Linked DNA regions of Homo sapiens: regions 2 and 3 are each linked to region 1. Evidence: promoter capture Hi-C in 16 types of primary human blood cells and fetal thymus (Javierre and others, 2016). All regions are on one chromosome and are shown on one strand. Each heading gives the region's core, a stretch centred on a gene start or on the middle of the fragment in contact. The rest is flanking DNA. Distances are from core to core; before and after follow the strand shown.

Evidence for each region. The method cuts DNA at HindIII sites, captures the fragments that hold promoters and counts their contacts. A CHiCAGO score of 5 or more calls a contact.
Region 2: a contact is called between a fragment that was not itself captured here and the fragment with the promoter of ERICH6-AS1 in region 1, in 1 of 17 cell types (megakaryocytes). The highest score is 5.1, in megakaryocytes.
Region 3: a fragment that was not itself captured here is called in contact with the fragment with the promoter of ERICH6-AS1 in region 1 in 2 of 17 cell types (megakaryocytes and total B cells); the score reaches 5.6 in megakaryocytes.

The regions. Positions count from the first base shown.
Region 1 is chr3:150,702,087-150,705,279 of GRCh38, forward strand. It overlaps ERICH6-AS1 (ERICH6 antisense RNA 1), which reads left to right and starts at 1,478. Exons shown (of 3, transcript NR_121675.1): 1 at 1,478-1,581. ERICH6 (glutamate rich 6) reads right to left here and starts at 1,834. Exons shown (of 14, transcript NM_152394.5): 1 at 1,410-1,834; 2 at 35-92. The coding sequence starts at 1,812. RefSeq lists enhancers at 1,710-1,789, 1,940-2,029. The HindIII fragment of the contact is 4,487 bases long and covers 1-3,193 here.
Region 2 is chr3:150,582,770-150,585,962 of GRCh38, forward strand. EIF2A (eukaryotic translation initiation factor 2A) reads left to right here. Exons shown (of 14, transcript NM_032025.5): 13 at 431-496; 14 at 1,077-3,193. The coding sequence ends at 1,142. The region is part of intron 1 of LOC124900547 (a long non-coding RNA gene); the gene reads right to left. Among named protein-coding and RNA genes, the nearest start is that of SELENOT, 19 kb to the right of the region's middle. The HindIII fragment of the contact is 399 bases long and covers 1,387-1,785 here.
Region 3 is chr3:150,605,983-150,609,175 of GRCh38, forward strand. The region is part of intron 1 of SELENOT (selenoprotein T); the gene reads left to right. Among named protein-coding and RNA genes, the nearest start is that of SELENOT, 4.3 kb to the left of the region's middle. The HindIII fragment of the contact is 2,725 bases long and covers 105-2,829 here.

The DNA of each region.
Region 1 (3,193 bases), core at 228-2,727:
TCAAAAAATGTGAAATTTGAAAACATTTTCTTACCTATCTATACTCATTTCAGACATGTCTTTCCTAAATGTCTGAAATATTTTAGGGAAACCTGTTGAATGAAACATTTAAAAATCAGCTATTCCCTCTAAATCAAAAGGTCAATTCTACCCCCCCCAGGAACACATGGCAATGTCTGGAGACTTTTTTTTTTTTTTTTTTTTTTTTGAGACGGAGTCTCGCTCTGTCGCCTAGGCTGGAGTGCAATGGCGCGATCTTGGCTCACTGCAAGCTCCACCTCCCGGGTTCACGCTATTCTCCTGCCTCAGCCTCCCAAGTAGCTGGGACTACAGGCGCACGCCGCCACGCCCGGCTAATTTTTTGTATTTTTAGTAGAGACGGGGTTTCACCATGTTAGCCAGAATGGTCTCGATCTCCCGACCTCGTGATCTGCCCGCCTAGGCCTCCCAAAGTGCTGGGATCACAGGCGTGAGCCACCGCGCCCGGCCTGGAGACATTTTTGATCATCGCAAGGATGTGTGCTTCTAGCACAGCCACGGGTAGAGGACAGGGATGCTGCCAAATATCCTGTAATTCACAGGACAGTCCCCAATCCTCCCCAACAAAGAATTATCCAGACCAAAATGTCAACACTAGAGCTTGAGAAGCCTACTCTAGAAGACTTCTCTGCTTCTTTTTTCAAGGAAGTGACTGGAGTGGCTTCAGCACAGGATGTTAAACACAAAAGAGAGTTGTTTTTTTTTTTTGCAGGACTGTTTCAGTAGTACAGCACCCTTAAGGCACTTCTCTGGAAATAATATGAGTGTGTGTGTGTGTGTGTGTGTGTGTCTGTGAGAGAGAGAGAGAGGGAGAGAGAAAGAGAGGGGGAGGGGAGAGGGAGGGGAGGAAGAGGGAGGGGAGGGGGAACAGAGAGAGAGAGAGAGAGAGATGTCACGGTGTGAATGCACGCAAAAATGTTATAAAAATGAGCACTCCCAGCAGCCTGGGCAACATAGTGAGACGCCAGATTAGCTGGGTGTGGTGGCGTGTGCCTGTAGTTCCAGTTACTCGAGAGGCTGCGGTGGGAGGCTTGAGCCCAGGAGGTCGAGGCTGCAGCCACTGCACTCCAGCCTGGGCGACAGAGCGAGACTCTTGTCTAAAAAAAAAAAAGCACTTCATACAGCCATGCCCAAGTTCAACTTTTATGGTGTTTCGCCTATATCCTAAATCGTGCCTCATCACAACAGCTCAGCCAAGGGTTCAGTGTCTCTGACAAGGGCGTGAGAGAGATTAGGTGTGTGGAATGGTGCATGCATTTAGAAATCAGGCACGACGCGCAGGTCGACGAAGGCACCACCCAGGAGTGGGTGGACCAGGTGCCCCCTGGAGACGAGAAACCCTCGAGGAAGGGGTGGGTCGGGGGCGGTACTTTTATGCGAGGAGGTGCTGGAGGGTGGGCTTGCGCTCGGCGTTTCAGTGCTGGTCGCGCTCTGGCTGGGCACGAACGTAGAGGTCAGGCTAGGGCTGACGATGCTGGCTAAGCGGGGGCGCACGTCTGGGAAGTCGTCGTCGTAGTCACCGATGTCCGTGACCTTCCAGAGGTACTCTTCGCTGAACGTCTCAGGGGCCTCCAACTCCTGCTCTTCCCCCACCAACTCCTCCTCCACCACCTCCTCCTCCTCCTCCTCCACCTCTTCCTCCTCCTCCTCCACCTCTTCCTCCTCCTCCTCCACCTCTTCCTCCTCCTCCTCCTCCTCTAACTCCTCCTCTGACTCCTTCTGGTCCTTCTTCCCCGGGTCTCCGAAGCCGCTAGGCGAGCGCAAGTGGGCCATGGCTGGCGGGAGGCGGGATTACAGCCAGCTCTTTGGCCGCGGCCCCGGTCGGCTCTCGCGAGCGCGAGCCTCTGTTGTGCGTTGGTCTCCCCGGGCAACTGCTTGCCCTGCGCCACCGAGCCTCCCGGATTTAAAGCGGCAGGAGCTGGTTAGCCGGATAGAATGTGGGTGCCGAGGGCCGGTGGGGGCCACCGCAGACTTCTTTCTGTCCCTGCTCTTCAGCGTCTCTGAAACCCCTGGCAGCCTGCGGAGAAACGATCTTTTCTTCGTCTCTCAGCTTATTTGGGGCCTTTTTTTTTTTTTTTAACTTGGGTGGAGGAAGTGGCTTCTAGCGACGGACACACACGGTGCCATTTGGTATTGCGGATGCTGGAGTCTGGTTATTGAGTAGACAGATGCTTGCTGGAACGTCCAGTGAAACTTTATTTACAAAATCAGGCGCCAGCCCTTGGGCCCTCGTTTGCGGATATTTTTAAAATAGCTTTAAATATTAATAAGCGTATTAAAATTGCCTTAAATGTTAGTTATCTTAAATATTGTTAGATTAATATTAATTAATCTTGATTGGCGACATTTTTAGCGTCCCATAAATTTTGCTCCTTGCTGTGATCTGGGTCCTGCTTCTTACTTGGCCCATCTATCCATCCTGGAGTAGAAAAGTCCTGAAGCATCTGGCCACCTAGGTACCACCTGCGTCCTTCTGGGACTTTGTATTTACTTACATTTTTGTAAAATATATACATTTTTTATTTTTGAGAGACAGGATGTCACTCTGTCACCCAGGCTGGAGTGCAGTGGCGGCATCATGGTTCACTTCAGCCCTGAACTCTTGGGCTCCAGTGATCCTCCCACCTCGGTCTCCCAAGTGGCAAGGACAACAAATGTGTGTCACCACGCCTGGCCAATTTTATATATTATATTATATTATATTATATTATATTATATTATATTATATTATATTATATTTATTTTGAGACGGAGTCTCGCTCTGTCACCCAGGCTGGAGTGCAGTGGCACCATATCGGCTCCCTGCAACCTCAGCCTCCTGGGTTCAAGCAATTCTCCTGCCTCAGCCTCCCGAGTAGCTGGGACTACAGGCACGTGCCACCACGCCTGGCTAATTTTTTGCATTTTCAGTAGAGATGGGGTTTCACCGTGTTAGCCAGGATGGTCTCGATCTCCTGACCTCGTGATCTGCCTGCCTCAGCCTCCCAAAGTGCTGGGATTACAGGCGTGAGCCACAGTGCCTGGCCTGTATTATATTTATTTTGAGACAGGGTCTTACCCTGTCGCTCAGGCTGGAGTGCAGTGGTGCTATCTCAGCTCACCGCAACCTCCTCCTCCCGGCTCAAGCTGATCCTCCCGCCTCAGCCTCCCGAGT
Region 2 (3,193 bases), core at 336-2,835, 120 kb before region 1:
AAAAGGTCTCTAGAGCCCTTCACAGCTGCATTATGAGGTTTCTCTTTCATTCACTTTTTATCGGGCAGGACTTTGGACCAACAATCTTTCAGAATGCTCTCATTGAGATTTCTCTCAAAGCCAGAAACATCACCCAGGTCCAATGGGGCATTGAAATGTGCCATTACTGATACATTTATATATACACATGCATACACGATAACATTAATTAAAAGCCTGAGAATAATATTTTGCCAAATCTCATGTTTTTAACATTTACAATTTTGCATTTAACTTTAAAAAACAATTTATCCTAGCATTTTAACAGACCATTGTTGATACAAATCTAAGATAATTAATCTCCTTACTTGAGTTTCACATTCTTAATAAGGAAATTTGCATTTGAAGTGACTTTTCTTCCATGCTCTTGACTCATATTTGATGTTTGCAGAAACTGAAAGCAATCGAACAACTGAAAGAACAAGCAGCAACTGGAAAACAGCTAGAAAAAAATCAGGTACTTTCTGCATTTTTCATTTAGGCTTGTGGTGACCACCAGCCTTCCCCCTTTTATTATAAACAAGTATTTAGTCAGGTAAAAGAGCACATGGAGTTTAAAAACTTATTTTGAAAACCATATGCCATATTCTTTTTAATGTTTTTACTTTTAAATAGCTTTACTCTTAAATAGAAGAGATATGGTATTGATCATGTGAATGAAAAAGTCAATATTCCTAAGAGGCATACTATGTTATTACTGCTGAAAATAATAGCAATTTGTTATATTAGACAAATATAAGATTCTCTCAAGTTGTACTGCCCTGTTTGCCTTTTCCCTCCTCCTGTCAACATGTTTAAGCCCGAATATAGAATTGAAAATTTTTGGGGCCCAAAGGGATGCAGTAAGACAGTGTCTGTTCTTTTCACCCTCGATTCATACCAGATAACAAATTAGAATTTGTTTCTAACCTGTATTTTAAAATCTGTGTTTACTAGTGAACATAATAAATTGTCAGAAATACCATTTTTTCTGTATTATTTTGGTTACATATCCAGTAATTATTTCATAATAACTTCATTGTTTCAAACTTTTCTAGTTGGAGAAAATTCAGAAAGAAACAGCCCTTCTCCAGGAGCTGGAAGATTTGGAATTGGGTATTTAAAGATTCACGGAAAGCAAGTTGATGACCAGAAATCAGTGCAAACACATCTTCTGTTAAACCCATTGGTATACACAGAATATTCCTGTGCCCACACTTAATGTCAATCTATAATTTTAACCATTTATCCAAGATTCTACTAAGTGTAAAATTATTTAATAATGTCTATTAAATTGATATTTATATCTTGCATCCTATATCATGTCAATATGTGATATAGAAAAGAGATACGTGAATTTTTTAGCTAAGCTTGACAGATTGAAAGACAAGTGTCATTTTTTTTTGTAGAGGGTGATATATACCATGTAAATGAACAAAGACATTTTAAATTTAATCACTGTTTTTATTATAAGTTCCTTAGTTCAGATATCCTTTATTAATTTATAAGATGTGTAAAACTACTTAATTCTCACAAGACTCTATGAAGTAATTCTTTTAATCTCTATTTTATAAATGAAAAAACTAAGGCCATAAATTTAAGAAATTTGTCAGTGTCTCAAAGCTAGGAAATGGCCATCTAATCCCAGAGCCTATGCTTTAGGTCACTATGATATATACTACTCCTGTATCCTCAAGTAATGTATCATTTAGTAACACTAAGCACCCTGCTTAGTTTTCATGGATACTGCCAAATTGCCCTATCTCAAGCTTTATACTTGCACCATTTAAAGTTTTCCACACTGTTGGCAATATCAGAAGTGATAAGGCTTTGAAATGTTCGCCACTTTGATAAAGAGGAAATGATTGTTTGTTACTGTTATATACATGTATTTTTATCAGAGATGGGTTATGTACTTTTCCACGTTTGATAGTTGGTTGTATTTCTTTAGTGAATTGATTTTTCTTTTCCTTTGCCCATTTTTCTGTTTGGATGTTTGACTTTCTTCTTAATTTGTAAGAGTATCCTATGTAGTAACAAAATCCTTTTTTAAAAATTTTTAAAGAAAAAGTATACACACAGGACTTTTTTTTTTCTAATTCAAAAAATACAAAGGCATGCAATGAAAATTAAGTCTGTTCCACTACCACATTTTCCAGTTTTTTGTGTATCTTTCTAATGATAGATACCATATGAGTATTCAAATATACATACACATACACTTAAAAAAAAAAGATGGCATATACTAACTGTTCTGTTTGGGGCTTTTTGGTGGTGGTGTTTGTTTGACAGGGTCTCACTCTGCCTCCCAGGTTGGAGTGCACCTTGAACTCCTGGACTCAAGTGATCCTTCACCTCCTCCTTCCAAGTATCTGACACTACAGGCTTGCATCACTATGCCCAGCTTATACTCACCATAGTGGTTCTGTACTCCCTTAAAATATTCTGGAGGCCAGGCATGCTGGCTCACACCTGTAATCCCAGCACCTTGGGAGGCCAAGGTGGGTGGATCACCTGAGGTCAGGAGTTCAAGACCAGCCTGATCAACATGGTGAAACCCCATCTCTACTAAAAATACAAAAGTATCCAGGCGTGGTAGCACATACCTGTAATCCCAGCTACTTGGGAGGCTGAGGTAGGAAAATTGTTTGAACCCGGCAGACAGAGGTTGCAGTGAGCCGACATCGTGCCATTGCACTCCAAGCCTGGGCAACAAGAGTGAAACCGTCTCACACACACACAAAAAAAAATATTTTGGAGCTCCTTCTATATGAGTCTCTCTCTCTTATCTCTCTCAGGATGTGTGTATGTGTTTGTTTCTCTGGAAAACCCTGACTAATACAGATTAGCTATGTATTAGGTAATACATAATGCCTAATACATAACTAATATATGGACAGGAAGTTAATAGACTGACTGTGCCACCTTAAAACTCGTATGTTGAAGCCCTAACCTCCAACGTGGTGGTATTGGGAGATGGGCCTTTTGGAAGGTAAGTGTGTTTGAATGAGGTGAAGAGGTTGGGGACTTCGTGATGGGATTATTGTCCTTACAAGAAAAGACACCAGAGAGCTTGTTCTGTCTCTTTGGGCCATGTGAAGACATGGTGAGAAAGCAGCCAGCTGTAAGCCAGAGAGTCCTCACCAGAACCTAACCATGCTGGTGATATCCTCAT
Region 3 (3,193 bases), core at 217-2,716, 96 kb before region 1:
TGAGTATTTTATCAAAAATAACTATACCTCAATATATCACCTGGTAATTGTACCACTTTTGCAATTGTTAGTCAACACAATAGCAACATAGTGCTGAGAGATCAAGCTTGTAGAGTAGCTTACGACAGAGTTTCCTATTCTCGTTTTTTTTTTTCCTTTCTTTCTTCCTTTTTTTTTTTTTTTGCTGAGACAGAGTCCCGCTGTGTCACCCAGTTTGGAGTGCAATGGCATGATCACGGAGCCTTGACTTCCTGAGTTCCGATAATCCTCCCACCACAGCCTCCCAAGTAGCTGGGACTGCAGACGCGCACCACCACGCCTGGCTAATTTTCATATTTTTTGTAGAGACCTGGTCTTGCCTTGTTGCCCAGGCTGTGTGTAATACCTGCTGTATGCCAGGAATTAAGCATGCTAAAGATGTGACCATCTCAAGAAGTCTACCAGACTGGCACAGTATTACTTGTGTATCTGAGTCTGTGGTTTATTATGTTGATTGAGCAATATAATTAGATACTTTTGATTATATTGGCTTCATACTTGGAAAAAAATTTATTCTGCTTATTTGGACGTTTAACACTTAACATAGAAAAAGGAAGTTCTCTAATCAGAGCTTAAAATTCCATTGTTTTTGAGACAGTGTTGCTTTGTTGCCCAAGCTAGAGTGCAGTGGTGTGATCTCAGCTCACTGCAACCTCTGCCTCCTGGGCTCAAGAGATTCTCATGCCTCAGCCTCCTGAGTAGCTGGGACTGCAGGTGTGCACCACCACGCCTGGCTAATTTTTGTATTTTTAGTAGAGACGGGGTTTCACCATGTTGGCCAGGCTGATTTTGAACTCCTGACCTCAAAGTGACCTACCCACCTTGGCGTCCCAAAGTGCTAGGATTACAGGTTTGAGCCACTGCCCCCGGCTGAAATTCCCTTTTTGTGTTTTCCTTTTATTGATTTTTATAAATTTGTATTGATAGTTACTCTTAGGCATGATGTTTGTCATACATACTTTCTCCGTATATGCGATTTAACATGTAATCAGATCTACAGCATTTAATTAGTTGCAGTTTAAAGAGATTATTGGCTACAACCCTTTACAGTTAATATTTACTTGAACATTTGACAACTGAATTGCTGAGAATAGTAGATTAAATGAAATTGAGATTTCAAAACATAAGTAGAATATGGCGGGATTTTCAAAGTTTTGTTAGTTTGAGAATCTACTGCTGTAATTTTAGGACAGCCAACTTCTAAATGTAGTTTTAAGAGGTAAATGAAACAACTGTACCAAAACAGATTTTTATTTAAATTTACAACTATTCAGCCTTGGCTTTCATAGTGTGACAGCAAGAAAATAAAGACCTAAGGTTGATTTGGATGTTGATACTCATCAAGATTAGTAGTAAAATGCTGAATTGGAGAAATTGTGAGTTACAGAGATCATGTTGGTTACTGTAGACTTGATATTTGCATATTCAACAGATATTGGAGCACTTACTCTGTGCAGGCACTTTGCTTCCTGCGGAGAATTCAATTCAGTGCTCTCGTGGACTTCACAGGCAAGAGCAGATGCAGACATTAATCCATGGACTGACCACACAGATAAAATTCAATTGGTGTTAAGTGCTGTGAAGAAAGATTATGTGGTGGTATGAGAGATGCCTAGTCGGGATCAGGGAAGGTTTCCATGAGGAAATGAACTTTGAACTGAGATTCGAAGGATAAGATTTATTTGGCGAGAACTTTCCAGGCAATGGGAATAACATGTTCAGTGTACTTATAGTAGGAAAGACCACAGTTTTACCAGAGAAGCCTAAGCCTACTGACCTCAGAGACCTAAAAGAAGGTGCCGTTAAGAGCTTGAGGGTCTGGCAGGCCATGCTTAACAAAGACCGTTTGGTTTTCTTGTGGAAAAGACATTCCAGGAGACAAAGAATTGATGGGAAACCATTTAGGGCGGCTTTTGGAGTTGTCCAGGCAAGAGATAATGGAACTTGGAAAAGTAAGGAGGTGGTAGAAATAGAAAGAGATGTATTTGAGAGATCTTTATGTGGTAAATTTAACAGCTCTTAATGATGAATTGTATGTTTGTGGGGAAAGAGAGGTGGCATGAAGTGAGAGATGTCAAAGATGATTCCTGAGTTCTGTGGTGATGCTATACCATTCACTGGAATGATAATTAAAATAAACAAGTATTATGAATGTTTTTGGTGGGAGGGAAGGAATCCTGATTTTTGAAGACTAAGGACATAGTAGCCAGGGGAAAACCCCCACAAAGAAATTTTTATCTCCAAAATAGCCATGATAACTGAAACTAAGAAACTTAAATTAACAGTTACTTTATTACATCAAACCTAAAATACATAATGGATTGTAAGATGTACCATGATTTTATATGCCATTTAGAAGAAAAAAATACTGCCATTTAAACGGACACACTAATGATTATAAGATAAATCCTGTGGCTTTTTTTGTTTGTTATTGTTTTTTTAATTTATAGAGATGCTACATGTAGCCACGTTTAGTGGCTTACACCTGTAAATTCCAGCTACTCAGGAGGCTGAGGTGGGAGGATTGCTTGCGGCCAGGAGTTCAAGACCAGCCTGGGCAACATAGCGAGACTTTGTCTCTAATTTTAAAAAAAGGAAAAGTAGAGATGCTAAATATGGAAAAGTATGCTTATTGGTATCAATGAAATAAAGGAGTAGTAAGAAGTTGGTGTAGATAGCAGGTTAGTAGTAGTAGAGTGTTACCATTAAAAAAATAGCTGCAGCATGTAATTGAACTCCTTGCACATAATAGTTGTTTCCACTTAATAATGAATTAAGTACTTAGTTCAAAGCTTTTAGATATAGGTAAACATGACTGAATGATCTTAAAGGTTTTATAACCTTTTACAAAAAATTGAAACATAATTTCCTAACAGTTTGCCATTAAGGCAAGTGCTGGACAATTGAGTTGAATATATTATTTAGAAATACCAAGATAACCCCTAAATTTTGATTAGTACAGTTTCTTTCTCTCGCCTGATTGTTCTGCCTAGGACTTCTAGTATTATGTTGAATAGGAGTGGTGAGAGTAGACATCCTTGTTTTGTTCCAGTTCTTAGGGGGAATGCTTTCAACTTTTGCCCATTCAGTATGATATTGGTTATGGGTTTGTCAGAGATGGCTCTTACTATTTTGAGGTATGTTCCTTTGTTTA